6 separate regions of the Homo sapiens genome follow, and regions 1, 2, 4, 5 and 6 are each linked to region 3. Evidence: promoter capture Hi-C in human tissues and cell types (Jung and others, 2019). All regions are on one chromosome and are shown on one strand. Each heading gives the region's core, a stretch centred on a gene start or on the middle of the fragment in contact. The rest is flanking DNA. Distances are from core to core; before and after follow the strand shown.

Evidence for each region. The method cuts DNA at HindIII sites, captures the fragments that hold promoters and counts their contacts. A contact is called where the count stands out against the background at its distance.
Region 1: a contact is called between a fragment that was not itself captured here and the fragment with the promoter of SULT4A1 in region 3, in 2 of the 25 tissues and cell types used here (lymphoblastoid cells and mesendoderm cells).
Region 2: a contact is called between a fragment that was not itself captured here and the fragment with the promoter of SULT4A1 in region 3, in 3 of the 25 tissues and cell types used here (IMR-90 fibroblasts, dorsolateral prefrontal cortex and lymphoblastoid cells).
Region 4: a fragment that was not itself captured here is called in contact with the fragment with the promoter of SULT4A1 in region 3 in 2 of the 25 tissues and cell types used here (H1 embryonic stem cells and dorsolateral prefrontal cortex).
Region 5: a fragment that was not itself captured here is called in contact with the fragment with the promoter of SULT4A1 in region 3 in 1 of the 25 tissues and cell types used here (mesendoderm cells).
Region 6: a fragment that was not itself captured here is called in contact with the fragment with the promoter of SULT4A1 in region 3 in 4 of the 25 tissues and cell types used here (dorsolateral prefrontal cortex, lymphoblastoid cells, mesendoderm cells and 1 more).

Annotation. Positions count from the first base shown.
Region 1 is chr22:43,520,530-43,523,229 of GRCh38, reverse strand. The region is part of intron 2 of EFCAB6-AS1 (EFCAB6 antisense RNA 1); the gene reads right to left. Among named protein-coding and RNA genes, the nearest start is that of EFCAB6-AS1, 5.6 kb to the right of the region's middle. The HindIII fragment of the contact is 4,397 bases long and covers 1-2,700 here.
Region 2 is chr22:43,383,694-43,386,528 of GRCh38, reverse strand. All of the region lies in intron 3 of LOC105373053 (a long non-coding RNA gene), which reads left to right. Among named protein-coding and RNA genes, the nearest start is that of LINC01639, 15 kb to the left of the region's middle. The HindIII fragment of the contact is 8,457 bases long and covers 1-2,835 here.
Region 3 is chr22:43,861,227-43,863,926 of GRCh38, reverse strand. SULT4A1 (sulfotransferase family 4A member 1) reads left to right here and starts at 1,414. Exons shown (of 7, transcript NM_014351.4): 1 at 1,414-1,713. The coding sequence starts at 1,545. The HindIII fragment of the contact is 9,350 bases long and covers 1-2,700 here.
Region 4 is chr22:43,471,185-43,474,036 of GRCh38, reverse strand. The region is part of intron 3 of MPPED1 (metallophosphoesterase domain containing 1); the gene reads right to left. Among named protein-coding and RNA genes, the nearest start is that of EFCAB6-AS1, 44 kb to the left of the region's middle. The HindIII fragment of the contact is 4,534 bases long and covers 1-2,852 here.
Region 5 is chr22:43,576,923-43,579,801 of GRCh38, reverse strand. The region is part of intron 25 of EFCAB6 (EF-hand calcium binding domain 6); the gene reads left to right. Among named protein-coding and RNA genes, the nearest start is that of EFCAB6-AS1, 62 kb to the right of the region's middle. The HindIII fragment of the contact is 8,969 bases long and covers 1-2,879 here.
Region 6 is chr22:43,436,677-43,439,508 of GRCh38, reverse strand. The region is part of intron 3 of MPPED1 (metallophosphoesterase domain containing 1); the gene reads right to left. Among named protein-coding and RNA genes, the nearest start is that of MPPED1, 26 kb to the right of the region's middle. The HindIII fragment of the contact is 8,662 bases long and covers 1-2,832 here.

The sequences.
Region 1 (2,700 bases), core at 50-2,549, 340 kb after region 3:
TCACTGCAACCTCCACCTCCCGGGTCCAAGTGATTCTCCTGCCTCAGCCTCCCAAGTAGCTGGGACTATGGCATGCGCCATCGTGCCCGGCTAGTTTTTGTATTTTTAGTAGAGATGGGGTTTCACCACGTTGGCCAGGCTGGTCTCGAACCCCTGACATAATCCACCTGCCTCAGCCTCCCAAAGTGCTGGGATTACAGGTGTGAGCCACTGCACCCAGCCGACTTGTGGCATTTTAACTGCCCTAGTCCAACCAGCCACTCTCCAGGTCCCCAACAGCCTTAGAAAATAACAGCCTGCATTCCCAGTTCAGTGTGATAGTCACCACACAGAGCAGAACAGAGCTGGAGCAACTTCAAAGCCTATTTCACCAAAATATGGTCGCTATTTGGCCTGCATGGTGGATCCCTGAAAGATGCCCTTTGCAAGGCTGGCTGTTTTGGGCCTAACTCGGAGCTTGCCCAGGTGTAAAAAACCTTTCTCCCAGAGTTAAGGAGGGAGTATTTGTAAAAAAAAAAAAAAAAAAACAAAACAAAAAACAAAAACAAGAAAGTGTTTTAACTTGGTGGCCGCCTAAGGCAATGGATAACAGCTGGGGTAATCAAAAGGCTACTCAGAAAGCTTAAAAGGAAAAGCTGGGAAATAAAATGTCACGTGGAGGCCTTAAAAAACACCAACATATTTCTTGAGAATCTAGAAAGCTACAAATGTAGACAGTGCTGTGTGTATGCCCGGGGTTGTGAGCATGCTCAGAAAAGACATTAAAAAGGCCCTACACTCTCACCTCTGGCTGACTTGCTGCACCAGCAGAAAGTGAAGGCTGATGCAGAGTGGCCAGCCACCTGGCTGAATGTTGAAGGTGCGTCCTGACAGGCACTCAGAGCATTTCAGCAGAGACTGGGAAATTTTTTATTTTTATTTTATTTATTTATTTATTTATGTGAGACGGAGTCTCACTCTGTCACCAGGCTGGAGTGCAGTGACGTGATGTCGGCTCACTGCAACCTCCCCGGGTTCAAGCGATTCTCCTGCCTCAGCCTCCCGAGTAGCTGGGATTACAGGCGTGTGCCACCACGGCCGGCTAATTTTGGTATTTTTAGTGGAGACGGGGTTTCACCATGTTGGCCAGGATGGTCTACAGGATGGTGATCCGCCCACCTCAGCCTCTCAAAGTGCTGGGATTACAGGTGTGAGCGGGACTGAAAAATTTATTGGTTCCAAGTGTTTAAGGAAACCTCTGTCTCATCATCAGCTGACCACTAAGCTAATAACTGAAAGGAAATTTCCGTGGCCACACATGACAGAGAATGCAGACCTTAAAGAATTCACATGGAAGAGTCACTAAACAAACAAAGCCAACTACAACAAGCAGCAGCAACAAATCCTTCAGGGCATTGAAGGGGGAGGGGACAGGGGAGGGGACGGGATCTTACTTCCAAAGTTGCCAAACTACATTATTTAAAATATTCAGTTTTAGGCCGGGTGCGGTGGCTCACACCTGTAATCCCAGCACTTTGGGATGCCGAGGCAGGCGGATCACCTGAGGTCAGGAGTTCGAGACCAGCCTGGCCAACATGACAAAACCCCACCTCCATTAAAAATACAAAAATTACAGCCTGACCAATATGGTGAAACCCCATCTCTACTAAAAATACAAAATTAGCTGGACATAGTGGTGCACACCTGTAGTCCCAGCTACTTGGGAGGCTGAGGCAGAAGAATCACTTAAAACTGGGAGGCGGAGGTTGCAGTGAGCTGAGATCATGCCACTGCACTCCAGCCTGTGACAGAGCAAGACTCCAAAAAAAAAAAAAAAAAAAGAAAGAAAGAAAAAAGGCATTGTAGACCTAAATGTAAAACACAAAACTAAAAAAAAACTCCTAAAAGAAAGCATGAGAGAAAATCTACATGACCTTGGGTTTGGAGATGGGAAATGGATTTTTAGATATGACACCAAAAGCACGAGCTATAAAAGAAGAAATGGATAAATTGAACTATATCAGAATTTTTAAATTTTGCTCTAAGAAAGACACTGTTAAAAGAGTAAAAAGAGAACCCACAGACTGGAAGAAAAAAAAAAAAAAAACTTGTATCCAGAATATAAAGAACTCTTAAAACTCAACAGCAAGAAAACAAACAACCTGATTTTTTTAAAAAGAGATGAAAGATCTAAACAGACTCCCACAAATGAATAGATGAGAATGATAAGCACAAGAAGGATGTGCTTATCATTAGTCATTAGGAAAATAGAAATTAAAACCATGGTGAAACACCCACATGCACACTCAAATGGCTACAATTTTTAAAAATAAGATCAATTCTGGTGATGATATGAATCAGCAGGAATACACATTCATGGCTGGTAGGACTGCAAGCTCATACAGCCATTTTGGAAACAGTTTGACTACACAGGGACTGAAAAAGGGGATTTTTAGGGTGATGGAACAACTGTCCTCCATGATCATATGATAATAGATACTGGGTTCTATGCATTTGTCAAAACCCACAGGACGGTACATGATGGAGAGTGAACGTCACTTTATGCAAATAAGTAATCAGCCAGGAGGTCAGGGGATCCTAGGATGGAAAGCAGACCAGGGACAAAATAATCCAACTGTATTGCAAACGGATGACATTAGCCACACTGAAAGGCGATGGGGGAGGAACTGACCACTGTAACTTCATAAAGCTGCAAATGAA
Region 2 (2,835 bases), core at 256-2,755, 480 kb after region 3:
AGAGAGAGGAAAGAAAGAAAGAGAGAGAAAAGAAAGGAAGAAAGAAAGAAAGAAGAAAGAAAGAGGGAGGGAGGGAGGAAGGAAGGAAAAGGAAGAAAGAAGAAAGAAAGAAAACAAAGAAAGAAAGGAAAGAGAGAGAGAAAAGAAAGAGAAAGAAAGAAAGAAAGAAAAGAAGAAGAAAGAAAGAGGGAGGGAGGGAGGGAGGGAGGGAGGAAGGAAGGAAGGAAGGAAAAGAAAGAAGAAAGAAAAGGAAGGAAAAGAAAGAAAGAAGAAAGAAAGAAAAGAAAGAAAGAGAGAGAAAGAAAGAAAGAGTAAGAAAGAGAAAGAAAGACTGGATGGGCAAATTTGGACCGTGCACACACCAACCACCTTGCACAATGCTTGGTACTCTCACATCCGTGACTTCACTTAGCCCCCATAAAACCCCTGCTTCCATCATTTTCCAGCTGGGGAAACTGAGGCCCAGAAAAGAGACATTCCCAGTGTCACGCAGTGCTGGGTTCCAGCTGGGCAGTGCTGGAATCAAACCCCGGTCAACAGGGAGAGTCAGCTGCAGTTTGTCAGTGGAACAGCCTGAGCCGTGCGGCCGCGTTTCGCCAGAAAATCACTCCCTGCTCATCATAACCGGCACCTCTCCATGTCGGCCACACGAGGGCAGCAGCGCCCCGGCCATCGCCGGGCTTCGCACTGAGGCTTCTTCCATCCCTGCTGAGAACGACTGGGCGGTTGCAGCCAGCAAGGCTCAGAGGAGGAAGGGGCCACGTCGGGGACCTCTAGGGTCTGCGAGGGGCCCAGGCTGTGTCCTGCCCCCTCCGCTGCCTTGGTGCATGAAAGACTCCACTTCTTCTGTGAAATGGAGGCTTGTGTCCCCACCCAGGCAGCCCAGGCTCCGGATAACATCAAGTGCCTCTGCCAGGCTGGGGTGCGGCGAATAATCAAAAGAAGCACGGAACCACTGACCAGGTCCAAGTCTCCATTTCACAGAAGTGGAGGCTTCATGGTATCACTGCCTCCGTGCAGAAGAAAAGGAGACTCCAGAGGCTGACGCAATTTGCCTGAGGTAGACGCAGAGTCAGACTCAGAGGCCGTATTGGTTCGTCCCACCGTCTTCCAGAGAGAATGGGCTGCCTCCTGGAGCCCTGACCCACCCACGACAGCCCCCAGGATGTCCTACAGCCAGTTGCAAACTCAGTTTGTCCAAAGCCATTGCCCTTCCCTCTCTGTCTTCTGTCAGTGGGAGGCACCACTGCACAGAGACCCCCAGCCTGAAACCTGGCATCTCCCAAAACTTCTCTGAGCTCCTTAACCCCACATCTCCCATCCAACTCATCACCAAACTCTGTGGATTCTCCCCAGGCCCGTTTTTTAAGATGACAAAAATTGCCTTGAACTACATCTGGGCTGTGATTTCGGATTGGGACACACACTCTTCAGTTTGCTACAGGCTTCACCGCTCCCTGCTGCATCCCCAGCTCTGGGGGCCCAGGTCAGCTGCTGTCGAGCACTGGGCTTCACTGATGTGCTTTTTACAGCGAGGGAGTATTTCCTTGCCCCATCAAGTGTGCAGGAAAGAAAGCTGGGCAGAGAAGTCTGCCTATTTGAAGAAAAAAAATCAGAAACAATTTTCTTCAGGTGACAGAAGGCAATTTTTAAGAAGCATGCAACCAAAATGCATTATATGTAAACTGTGTAATATCTAATATTTTTTACGCTCAGCCCACGTTATACATTTTTGCCACCTGTCTGGCCACTGTAGGCTTTGGAGGTTGCAACCCCCAGGTGATAATAATCACAGAAGAGACTTACAGTGAGATAGCGAGATGGGGGTGGGTGTGGGCAGAGGGAGAGGAAGAGTCAAGCCATTTAGATAACTTGGGTTTCCTCTCCAGGCCCCAAAAAGCAGGAAGGGGGCGCGTAGAGTACTACCTCCTATCCTATTTTGTCCAAAGCCAGATTCATAATCATTGCCACTTCCATGCACACCCTTCTCAGTTTCCCACCCGATTCCCATAGACGGGGCCCCTCCACTATCTCCTGCCCACAGTATAAGTCGTAAAGTCTCCCAAACCTCAACCAGGTGAACAATAGTGCCTGATGTCACCCAGGTCCTATTGCAATGATTATGTGTTTTTTCTTTAAGCTGTTAATGGAATGAATTATATTAATTAATTTCCTAATAATAGGAATTGCATTCATAAGATAAACATAACTTCATCATAATATGCTGGGGTTTTTTGTTTTTGTTTTTTTTTTCTTTGAGATGGAGTCTCACTCTGTAGCCCAGGCTGGAGTGCAGTGGCACGATCTCGGCTCACTGCAACCTCTGCCTCCAGGGTCCAAGAGATTCTCCTGCCTCAGTCTCCCAAGTAGCTGGGACTACAGGCGCCTGCCACCACACCTGGCTAATTTTTTGTATTTTTAGTAGAGACGGGTTTTACCATGTTGCCCAGGTGGTCTCAATCTCCTGAGCTCGGGCAATTCACCTGCCTCGGCCTCCCAAAGTGCTGGGATTATAGGCGTGAGCCACTGCACCCGGCCTGTACTGTATTTTTTATTATTATTGCTGAATTCACTGTGCTAATAATTTTCAAGAATTCTTGGAATCTATGCTCATGGGTAAAATTGACTTGAAAGTTTTCTTTATTGTACTGTCATCATCTGATTAGCCAGCTTATGCTAACCGAATAAGGTAAACTGGTAAGTGTTGACTGTGTTTCTCCACTGTGGAGTAGAAATTTGGGTAAGCTTGAACTGATTTGTTCTTTGACTGTTTAGCCAAATTAGGATTTGGTTCATCCCACCATCTTCCAGAGAGAGCTGGGCTATTAATTTGGT
Region 3 (2,700 bases), core at 165-2,664:
CTTGTTGGTGTAAACTCCTTCCATCTTCCTGGCTACACTACTTAGAGGTAGGAATCATTCTTTTCCTTTACACAGCTGATGATGCTCGGCTGCAGAGAATGAGAGCAGGCTGTGTTGTTTTCATCTTTGTGCTTCCCCAGGCATGTTAGTAGGTGCTTCATATATGTCTGTTGAGTGCATGACTGGCAAGGGGTTGCACTGAGATCTCTAGAACTCGGTTGCTCTCAAATTATAGTTTGCACAAGAAGTGCCTTACTAAATGTATATTTTTGTAATTTTTCTCCATAGATCTGGGGTCCTGGAATTTGCAATCCAACACTCCCCTCCCCTACTCATGGGATATTAAGAAGCACTTTTTGGCTGGGCGAGGTGGTTCACACCTGTAATCCCAGCACTTTGGGAGGCCAAGGTGGGCAGATCACGAGGTCAGGAGATTGAGACCATCCTGGCTAACACGATGAAACCCCGTCTCTACTAAAACAAACAAACAAAAAATACAAAAAATTAGCCAGGCATGGTGGCATGTGCCTGTAGTCCCAGCTACTCGGGAGGCTGAGCCAGGAGAATGGCGTAAACCCGGGAGGTGGAGCTTGCAGTGAGCTGAGATCGCGCCCCTGCACTCCAGCCTGGGCGACACAGCGAGACTCCATCTCAAAAAAAAAAAAAAAAAAAAAAAAGCAAAAAAAAAGCACTTTGTTTTTTTGGCTGGACTAGGTGGCCCATACTTTTTTTTTGTTGTTGTTAGAAGATCTCGTCCTGTTGCCCAGACTGGAGTGCAGTGGTGCAAGCTCACAGCTCACTGCTAATTTTTTTTTTTGTATGTTTGTAGAGATGCGGTTTCACCATTTACCCAGGTTGGTCTCGAACTCTTGACCTCAGGAGATCCGCCCGTGCTCGACCTCTCAAAGTGCTGAGATTACAGGCGTGATCCACCGCGCCTGGCGAAGACGCATATTTTTAATAGGACCTAATATTTACCTGAAATTATCTTGGTTATTTACCAATGTAAGCTCCAACAGGGCCAGGCTTCTGCTTGCTTCTACCCTGACGCGTGTCGGGGCCCTGGCCCAGTGCCTGGCACAGATCAGCAGCGCGCTAAGCACGTGTTGAATGGACGACTACCTTTCAGGGCCTTCCAGCCAGGGTATCTCATGCGTCTGTGTTGAGCGCTTGCTGAGTGACAGAAGCTATGAGCGGAATGAACGCACGCACGACTGAGGAGGCTGCAGACCGCGGGCCAGGGTCTCTGTCAGCCCCGGCAGCGGGTGGGTGACCCCGGCCGGGGGCGGGGCGGGGAGGACGCGGCTCCGCGGCGCCATGACGTCACGCCCGTGCAGCGCCGCGGCCGCGTGCCGGGCGGCGCCATGACGTCATACCCGCGGAGCCTCCGCCGCGCGTCGGCGGCGCCATGACGTCACGCCTGCGGAGCTGCCGCCGCGCGCCGGTGGGGCGCGAGCGTGTGCGGGGCGCGGGCGCGGGCGCGGGCGCGGGCGCGTGCGGGCTGCGAGCCGGGAGGCGGCGGCGGCGACGGCGACGGCGGCGGCATGGCGGAGAGCGAGGCCGAGACCCCCAGCACCCCGGGGGAGTTCGAGAGCAAGTACTTCGAGTTCCATGGCGTGCGGCTGCCGCCCTTCTGCCGCGGGAAGATGGAGGAGATCGCCAACTTCCCGGTGCGGCCCAGCGACGTGTGGATCGTCACCTACCCCAAGTCCGGTGAGCCCCGCGCCGACCGCGCCCGCCACGCCATGCCCCAGCCCTGCAGCGCGGCCGCGTAGACGCCGCGCCCGCGCCCGGGGCTTCTGCTGGGCCGGGTGGTCGCCCTTGGCCTCCGCCCCTGCCGTGCCCACCGCTCTCCCGATGCTCGGATCCCTGCGGGGCGGGGTGGGGTGGGGTGGGGGTGGGAAGGGGCTTGGTTCTCATCTGGGGAAACCAAGGTCAGAGACCTTCGGGAGCGGCCCCTTCCGTGGAGATGGAGCCTATTTGGCCGGCGCTGCAGGAGGATGGGCCCAGGGCCGCCACCCATCCCTGCTTCTCCCTTTACCTGGCTGGCTGTGTGACCTTGGACAGGTCACTCAACCTCTCTGTTCCTGAATCCTGCCCAACCTTTGATGAGTGCAAAGTCCTGGTGTTCACCTGGGAAGGGAGATAACATGGGCGTCAGGGCTTTCAGCGTGGAAACGTAACGTCCCTCCTTTCCAGCCTGGGCTCCGGGTGGGGGATGGGACCAGTCCCCGCCTGGAGTGCCTTGCTTGTACATTCTCTTGTTTCAGGGCTGCCTCCATCACCGAGGCAGGACCTGGGGCATTCACATTTCCCAGCATTAGCTGACGTCACTTTCACAATAACAGCTGTGTGAGCTAGTGGTGGTCATTCCCACTTTACAGTCTAGGCACAGAGGCTCAGAGAGGGGAAGAGGCTGGTCCAAGGTCACTCAGCTGGTGAGTGGCTGACCTGGGAATTAAAGCTAGGCTGGTCTGTTTCCAGACCTGAGGTAGGAGATTGTATAGTACCCCATCTGAGGTTTTTAGGGAAAGGAGGTAGCAGCTTTCCTGTTCTGTAAACATGCCCTGGGATTTCCTTGTTGCCACTGTATTTGAGGCAATCACAGCGTGGTTTAGAAGGTGTCTGGCTCTAAGGTCACGCCGGACCAGCAGTCGGGCAGTTTCAGGAAAAGCTGTAGGCTTGGCTGTTGTAGCTGTA
Region 4 (2,852 bases), core at 171-2,670, 390 kb after region 3:
TGCCATGGAAATTCAAAGCCAAAACAAAATCTAGATGGAATCAAAACAAAAATGTCTATGTATACAGCCACTGAATTACAATAGTGTCATTCCAGCTTTGCTGTGTGCGAACTTTTGGGTAGTTCTTCCAAGGTACACATCTTTCTCTCTCTGGGGTCCAGTTTTCTGGATGCCCTAGGCAGGAGTGTGCACTGTCACCCAAGAGAGACTGGCTGGGGGCTGGTTTCTCGGCAGCTGCCCGGCAGGCCTCACCCACCAGGCTGGCTCTATGCAGGCGCAAGACCACCACAGCTGTTCGGTCTCAGTAAACGCCACTCGCCCCTGCCCCCTACTCCATCTGAGAGCCAGCCTGACCCCAGGCTTGGGCCCCTGACTCCCCACTCCCCACCAGCCTCAGCTGCTGGGCACTCATGGGCCTGGAGAGTCAAGATGGTACCTGTAAGCCCTGATTTGGATAAAAAATGAAATGTTGAAAGTGCACTTGGAGACCCAAGCCTTTCTCCTGGCCCCTCCTGGGCCGAGAGTGACCTGGAGGGTCAGGCAAGTAGCAAAGACGCCAGCACAGCACAGGGGCCTCGGGGTGGATGGGGACCCAGACAGGAAAATGGTGACATTCCATAACCAGTTCACAAAGCAGTAACTGTGGCTAACAAAGACCGACACCTCGCGAGGCATCCCCTCTATCCCTGGAAGACCATGACCTTCATCTGCTAAAGCACACACAGGGCAAGGTGCCAGAACACTTGTCTGGCCATCAGGCTCCAATGAGCCCCTGACACCCCCTTCACTCCTCACCCTCCCGGGGCAATGCCCAGCAGCACGGGCACCGTGGTCTGTCCCCTGGGACAACACAGCAGCCCAGGAACAGCAGAGCCTTTTCCACCATGACCAAAAACTCTACCTCTTCCGCTGTGTGAGCATTCCATGGGGAACCAAATTCCAGAAATGCCTCTGCTCCAAATACTAAGGATTGTTTTTCTTATTGGAAACGGATGCTTGCAATATGGGCTGAGACTCGGAAGATGTGCCATCACACTCAGCTCTCAGGAAGCACTCTAGGAAGAGCTCGCCTCCCCAGCCCTTACGTGAGCTCCAGGGAAGGGTAGAGTGAGGTTTACAGCAGTACATGTCCTATAACTACAGCCATTATTATATCCTAATAGCAAGGAAATAGAAGGGTCCAGTGCCCCGTTATAAGCTTCTTCTCTACCCCCAGCTAGATGAGACCTGTGCCGTCTGTCTAACCACGTGCCCTATGGCCACGGCAAATGGCCAGGTCCCAGCCTGGCCAGGGAGGGTGGGCCAGGGCGGTAAGAAAGGGAACCCCAAGGCGAGACAGAAGTTTTCTTCAGAACAGGCAGAAAATCCCAATCTACTCATAGCTGACTCACCAACCACCTCAGACTGCTTCACAGGTTTGAGAAAGAAAGCACTGCTCTTTCTTCTTCGGGATTTATCAACTCTGGGGCGGGGGACCACTGGTACATGGGGGCCACTGGTACTTAGCAGGCCACAGAATCTCAGCTCCAGCAGCCTGGATCCCAGACCCACTCTGCCACCAACCCGCTGTACGACTTAGCTTCCCTGTGCCTCAGTTTCCTTACCTGTAAAATGAGAAAAGTAACAGCGACCTTGCAGGACTGTTCTGATATTATAGAAGATAATCAATGGAAATGTACAAAATTTTGATGTTCAAAAAAACCAAAGAGCTTCCCTGGGCCAGAGTTTGCAAACTAGAAGCAGGCAGGCCAGACCCATCCACAGACATATTTTGTTTGGCACAACTTTTTTTTAAAACTTGAATTTGTTGCCAACATCAAAAATTTGAGAGATTCCTAATAACATTTCATTACTTCTGTTTTCTAAAAATAAAGAAATAAATACAATTTAACTGGTCCAGTCAGGAAGTGCTGAGTGTCTGTGTCCCCTTGGACAGGATGAATGCGTCCAGCTGGCCCCAATCCCCACCTGTCCCTACCGTCTCACACCCAGTCCACTTCATTCATTTGAAGGTACCGCCCACTCTTAACAGGCATTTGGGTTTCTGTCCCTGGGGACATGAAGGGAACAGCCTGGCCCTGGCCCGAGGTTCTTCCAGTCAGGCTGCTGGGATGAGATTCTACAAGCCCCTTCCACCTCCCTGACCCTCCTCTTGTACATCAGAGCCCACCCTGATGGACGCTGGGAACTCTGCTTGCTGTGCTCATGGGAGAGCTCCAAGAACATGGATGCAGGCGTGTTTGCTTCCCCCAGCTCTGTCCCTAGCAGGCCCCAGCAGGAGTCTGGCGAATGAAGCCTCCCACAGCCCCACAGTGCGACCAGGCATGGTACAGAGAAGCCCTCTCCAGTGAGGCTCAGGCTGCGGAGAGGAGGGAAGAGGGCTGCGTGGGCCTGAGCAGCTGGTAGTGGGTCCGGGAGGACACAGCAGGAAAGATGGCCACTTCTGGACCGCTGGTGGAGAGCTGAGATCTCATTTCCCTAGAGCACCCCCAAGGTACTTGGTTTTATTATCTCCTCTTTGCAGCTGAGCAGAATGAGGCTCAAAGGCTGGGAAACCCACCCAGGCCCCACGGCTGTGGAGGGGGACGCTGGTCCAGCTGACCCCACCCCTCTAGACGGGCACCTCAGACTCCTCCAAGGCCAGCAGACCCCTCATCGAGCCCCTCCCCAAACACACTGCAGCAGGGAGGCAGCCAGAGCCCCCAGCTCGGGTTGGGGGTGGCCACCATCGCTGCCTTCGGGCTCTGATTCACCACATTTCCACTTCACATCACCCATCCATCCTGCAGCCCAAGCTGGGGGTGCAGAGCCAGTGCTCATGTATTTATGTCATGTCTTTGACTGGGGGTGTT
Region 5 (2,879 bases), core at 114-2,613, 280 kb after region 3:
GTGGAATGATGCTTGCCTGTAGGGAATGATGCCTGCGTGTACGGAATGATGCCTGTGTGTAGGGAATGATGCCTGCATGTATGGAATGATGCCTATGTGTATGGAATGATGCTTGTATGTAAGCAATGATGCCTACGTGTACGGAATGATGCCTATATGTATGGAATGATGCTTGCATGTAGGGAATGATGCCTGCATGCAGGGAATGATGCCTGCGTGTAGGGAATGATGCCTGCGTGTAGGGAATGATGCCTGCGTGTACGGAATGATGCCTATGTGTATGGAATGATGCTTGCAGGTAAGCAATGATGCCTACATGTACAGAATGATGCCTATATGTATGGAATGATGCTTGCATGTAGGGAATGATGCCTGCATGTACAGAATGATGCCTGCATGCAGGGAATGATGCCTGCGTGTAGGGAATGATGCCTATGTGTAGGGAATGATACCTGCGTGTAGGGAATGATACCTGCGTGTAGAGAATGATGCCTATCTGTAGGAAATAATGCCTGCGTATAGGGAATAATGCCTGCATGTAGGGAATGATGCCTGCATGTAGGGTATGATGCCTGCATGTAGGGAATGATGCCTGCATGTACGGAATGATGCCTATGTGTATGGAATGATGCTTGCATGTAAGCAATGATGCCTACGTGTACAGAATGATGCCTATACTTATGGAATGATGCTTGCATGTAGACAATGATGCCTGCGTGTAGGGAATGAGGCCTGCATGTACGGAATGATGCCTGCGTGTAGGGAATGATGCCTGCATGTAGGGTATGATGCCTGCGTGTACGGAATGATGCCTGCGTGTACGGAATGATGCCTATGTGTATGGAATGATGCTTGCATGTAAGCAATGATGCCTACGTGTACGGAATGATGCCTATACGTATGGAATGATGCTTGCATGTAGACAATGATGCCTGCGTGTAGGGAATGATGCCTGCATGTACGGAATGATGCCTGCGTGTAGGGAATGATGCCTGCATGTAGGGAATGATGCCTGCGTGTAGGGTATGATGCCTGCTTGTAGGGAATAATGCCTGTGTGTAGGGAATGATGCCTGTGTGTATGGAATGATGCCTGCATGTACAGAATAATGCCTGCACGTAGGGAATGATGACCGCGTGTAGGGTATGATGCCTACATGTATGGAATGATGCTTGTGTGTGTGGAGTACTGATGCTGTGGACTGTGCTGGTGTCCTTGGATATTGTGCTTGGAACCAGCCTCCTGGTGAGGTGGTGCTCCCAGGTGAGCTTCTGTGTGTCAGCGTCAAGAAGGGAAGATGCTTTCTGCAGAGGGCAGGCATCGAAGAGAACAAGGCAGCGTCGGAATCATCCTGTGGGAAGCCGGCACCCAGAGCCCAAACAGCCACAGCAACCCAGACTGAAAGATCCACTCAACACCTCTCAATCCCCACAGTGAACATCCCTTCTAACGTCACAGAGTCCTGGCTCCACACACTCTAGAGGGCTTCCCAGGGTGCTGGGGGGCCACAAGCCCTAATGAGAGTTCATGAGTCTTTTTCTCTTTGATCATAACCTTGCAAGGTGGGGCTCCTGATTCCACTCTACAGGAGGGGAAACTGAGGCTCAGCGTGAATAAACCTGCCCAGGGTCACACAGGGACTATGGAGCAGAGCCCAGAACCTGAGGAGGAAGGGGAAATGGACTTGTCGCAGCCCTTCTTTTCCAAATCCAGGTGGTTTGAAGAATTGAAGTCCTGAAGATCTTTACTAGAGATGTGATGTCTACTGCCCATGACTTCTTCTGAGGATCGACCTTAGTTAGTGTCATGACTTTTGAAGAAATCAAGGCTAGTGACCCTTTTAGGGTATCAGACTCTTGGAGGTGGGAATCACTCACTCTCCACTCCTGAGATCTATTTTAAACTTTTTTTTTTTTTTTTGTAAATCACATCCCAATTTCCTTGGTGTAGGGAAGCAAGGTGGGCTCCGGAGTCCCGGTGCGGTGTGAGGGATTAAATGTGGGGAGGGAAGGAGTGAGGAGGGGCAGCCCAGCCAGCTGAGCTTTGCAGGAGGCTCCTCTTCACACCTGAGCCTGCCGCTGCCATTGCCCCTGCGGCACAGTTGTCTGTGTTCATTCTTATGATCGTTCTCCTTAACATTTGAGATCCCCACGGGCCAGGTACCTGGATGGGGGCATTTTCCAGCAAACTTAGGAAAACTTACACCTGCCCTCTGAGTTAAGTCCATCTTTACAGTAAAGAAGCTAAAGTTTAGAGAGGTTCAGGACTTATGGTGGGCAGCAGAGCCCAGGTTCCCAGAACAACTCCTGGCTAGGGGATTTCCCACTGTACACAGCTACCTCATGTTACCATGAACTACATGAAAATGTGAAGCTATCTGATGTTTTAAGGTTAATTTGATTACACATATGCCATCACCCTGTTGGGCCAATGGGGCGTGCCTAATTAGCCCCGAATGAGAATTAACTACAAGGGTGTGGGGTTTGCAGGCATGCTAAATTCTTCCTTTAAAAAAGATCTTAATCTACCCCTGGATGCAGATTTCCTGGTGTAATAAAAATGAATGATTTTATTTCGACAGATGGAAAAAAATGTGCTTTCTTTTTATAGCACATTTTTGCACTTTTTCAGTTTAACTACTCTACTGTAGGATTCACAACGTGTGCCCCCGCTGCTCCAGTGCAGACCCAGGGCAGCTTCTCATGATGCAAGGCCACTCGGGCTCTGGCCGAGACTCAGGAAAGGACAGCAACCTCAGCACACAAGCCTGGTTGTGAAGGACAGGGGTGGGGTCAGGGTGGTCCCCTGATCCCTCCTCCCAGCTGCTCCCAAAGTCAGACTCCTGTCTTGAGACACCAGCCCTGATGTGATGCGGTGGG
Region 6 (2,832 bases), core at 8-2,507, 420 kb after region 3:
AGCCGCCCCACCTCCCTGCACTGGCACTGCTGACTGATCCATCCAGGCTGTGAGCTCCCTGTGGCTGGTGAGGAGCAAGGAACCACCTGCACATTCTTTGCCATTTTCAGCAAGTTTTGCTTTTGCGTTCACTCTTTATAGCTGGAGAACTTGTCCTTATCCATCTTTTAGCTGCTTACTCGACATTTACAAATCAAGCTGCCACTTCTATTTCATGAATACATTTGGGATATTAATGGCCAAGGGGGAAAAGGGGCTGCTCAGAGGGACTCTTTCATCCCAACCCGTCCCCCTCCCATGAACGCAGACCCAGCTAGAAGCCGGCAAACGGGCAATGCATAGACACCAGTCACAGCCGAGCTGACAGCAACGCACCTCACAGCAAGTTAGAGTCCGCAGGAATTTAACCACGCAGAGCCCCGTTAGATGTCTTGTCTTGTCTTATACGGTAGGTCTTTATTAATTTTTTAAATCTCTTCCTGTCTGTCTGGAGGTGGCTCCCAGAATATGATTTCAAATGCTTTCCATGAGATCAATGAACAGGGAAGGAGCAAGTTGTGAATTTCAAATCTATAACTTTCTCATCCAGGAGAAGGGGCTGAGCCAGTGGGTGGGCGAGGTGGGCAAGGTGATGAGGTGGGTGTGCAAAGGTCTCCCGCCCTGTCGGCTGGGGAAGGGGCTCATGGAGGCCCTTGAGCGGCCAGGATTGACCCAAGGCCCAGCGCTGTCCCATCCCTTCTGTGACACACTTGGCACCAGACACCCAGGAGCGTTGCCTTTGTTTGAAATTACCAGAAAAACACACCCCTCCCCTATAGAAAATCAGACACAGAGAGAGAGAGAGACAATCCTAAAGAAGAAGGTAAAACCCCATGAGCCCACCACCCAGACATCGACTCTGGAACATTCTGGAGCTTTAGCCCTCACCAGGTACACTCTGGTTCTACAATCCATCATGGCCTTTGAAAAGCTTTCTAAAGGTCATCCCCATACAAAAACCTTCCCAAAGCTCCCCCTGCCCTTAGGATCAGCCCCACACTCTTGTCCGAGGCCCAGGAGGCCTGTGTGGACCAGTGCCTGCCCCACTGCCCTGCTTCTCCCACTTCCCAACACTCCTAGTGCTCTCTGCTCCCACCCCAGGGCCCCTGCAGCCTCCGCGTCCTCTGCCTGGAACGGGTCCTGCCCAGAGCTGCACAAGGCTGCCTCATTCTCACCCTCAGGCCTGGCCCAACATCCCCTCCTCAGGGAGGCCTTCCGTGCCCACCCAGCTGAATGGCCATCACCACACGTCCCCAGGTGGGTCCCAGACAGACCCCATAGCTCTCTCTAATGAATGGCTCCCGTGCCGCCCTCATGGCTATGAAGCCACCGTCCCCTCGCATCAGGCTGAGTGGGGCCCTGTGTGCTCAGGGCCTACTGTTACCCCAGGGCTTGCGACACACCTGGCACCTCGTGGGCTCTCAGTGAGGCTCAGCAATAGGATGACGGAATGTTTCTTTCCAGTCTCTTTTTCTCTGTGTCTGCTGTTGGGAGGGCGGTTGCTAGCTGAGACTACACGTCCACATCTCTCAGGAACTCCACATGCTGTAACACATGTGTTGTTCCACTGCCTTCCCTGCCAACTCAACCTCAAGGTTCAGGTCCAATGTCTTCCTCCCAACACCCCACCCCTACCCAGGGGAGCCCAGATCTGGTAGACGCCAGTTCATGGGGGCAATCATAACAGGTATACAGCACTTTACATTTTGCAAGGTGATTCTTTCCTCCATTCCAACAGAGCCTCAAAACAACATTTGGAGGGATGCGAGGCAGGGGAGCCTAACCGCCCCCTTTTAAAATGAGGCCCAGAGGGGCCACGTGGCTGCTGTGGTCACCCAGGCAGGAAGCAGATCCAGACTCCAAATGCATCGCCTACACCCTTACTTCCAATCAGCATCGTCCACACCCTTACTTCCAATTAGGGAGGCTTCACCTCAAGAAGGAGAGGCAACACAGAGCTATACCAAGAGTTCAGCACTGGGGTCCCACTGCCCAGTTCTGCCATTTACAAGCTGTGTGACTTTGGGTAAGTGGCTTCACTTCTCTGGGACTTGGTTTTCTCCTCTGTAAAATGGGAATGATAATAGTTCCTGCCTCATTGTCAGGAGGATTAAATGAGTTACTAATACATGCGAAGGGTATAGAACAGCACCCAGCACATACTAAATGCTCAGTAAACCTGAGCTTCATAGAAAAAACGACCCTGTCCAAACGCACCAAATAGGTGCACAGTCCATCTCTCAGCCATGATCACCAAACTCTGGGGACCTGGCCCACCGGCCAACCAAGGTGTCTCGCTTTGTGCAGTGGGTGAGTTCCCAAAATACCAGCAGCAAATGGGCTTCGATTCATGCTCTCACCCCCATGCAAATGCTCCTCCTCCCTCAGTCTGAAGCCCATTCCTCCTTGAGTGAGGGTCCTGACATCTGCAAACACTTCCAGGCAGCAAAGGGGCGAGGCCTGAGGGAAAGAACCTTTTGTAAAAGGAAGACCCCTTTACAAGTTGTAAGTTCACACTTTCCACCCATCATGGGCACCTGGAAAGCCAGGCTGTGTGTGAGAGACAGTCCCCACCCTTCAGAACCTCCATTCTCCTCTGTCAAATAGGGACGCAAATGGTAGCCACCTCAAGTAGCTGTTCCCAAATTCAACAAGGCAGAGGTGGTAAGAGCCTGCCACCCCGTGCCTGGCACACAGCGGGGGCTTGGCCCACAGCGACTCCAGCCTCTCTGCCCTGGAAACGGCCTCTTGACTCCACCAAGTGGAACCTCCTGTCTTTTGAAACCCACAGCA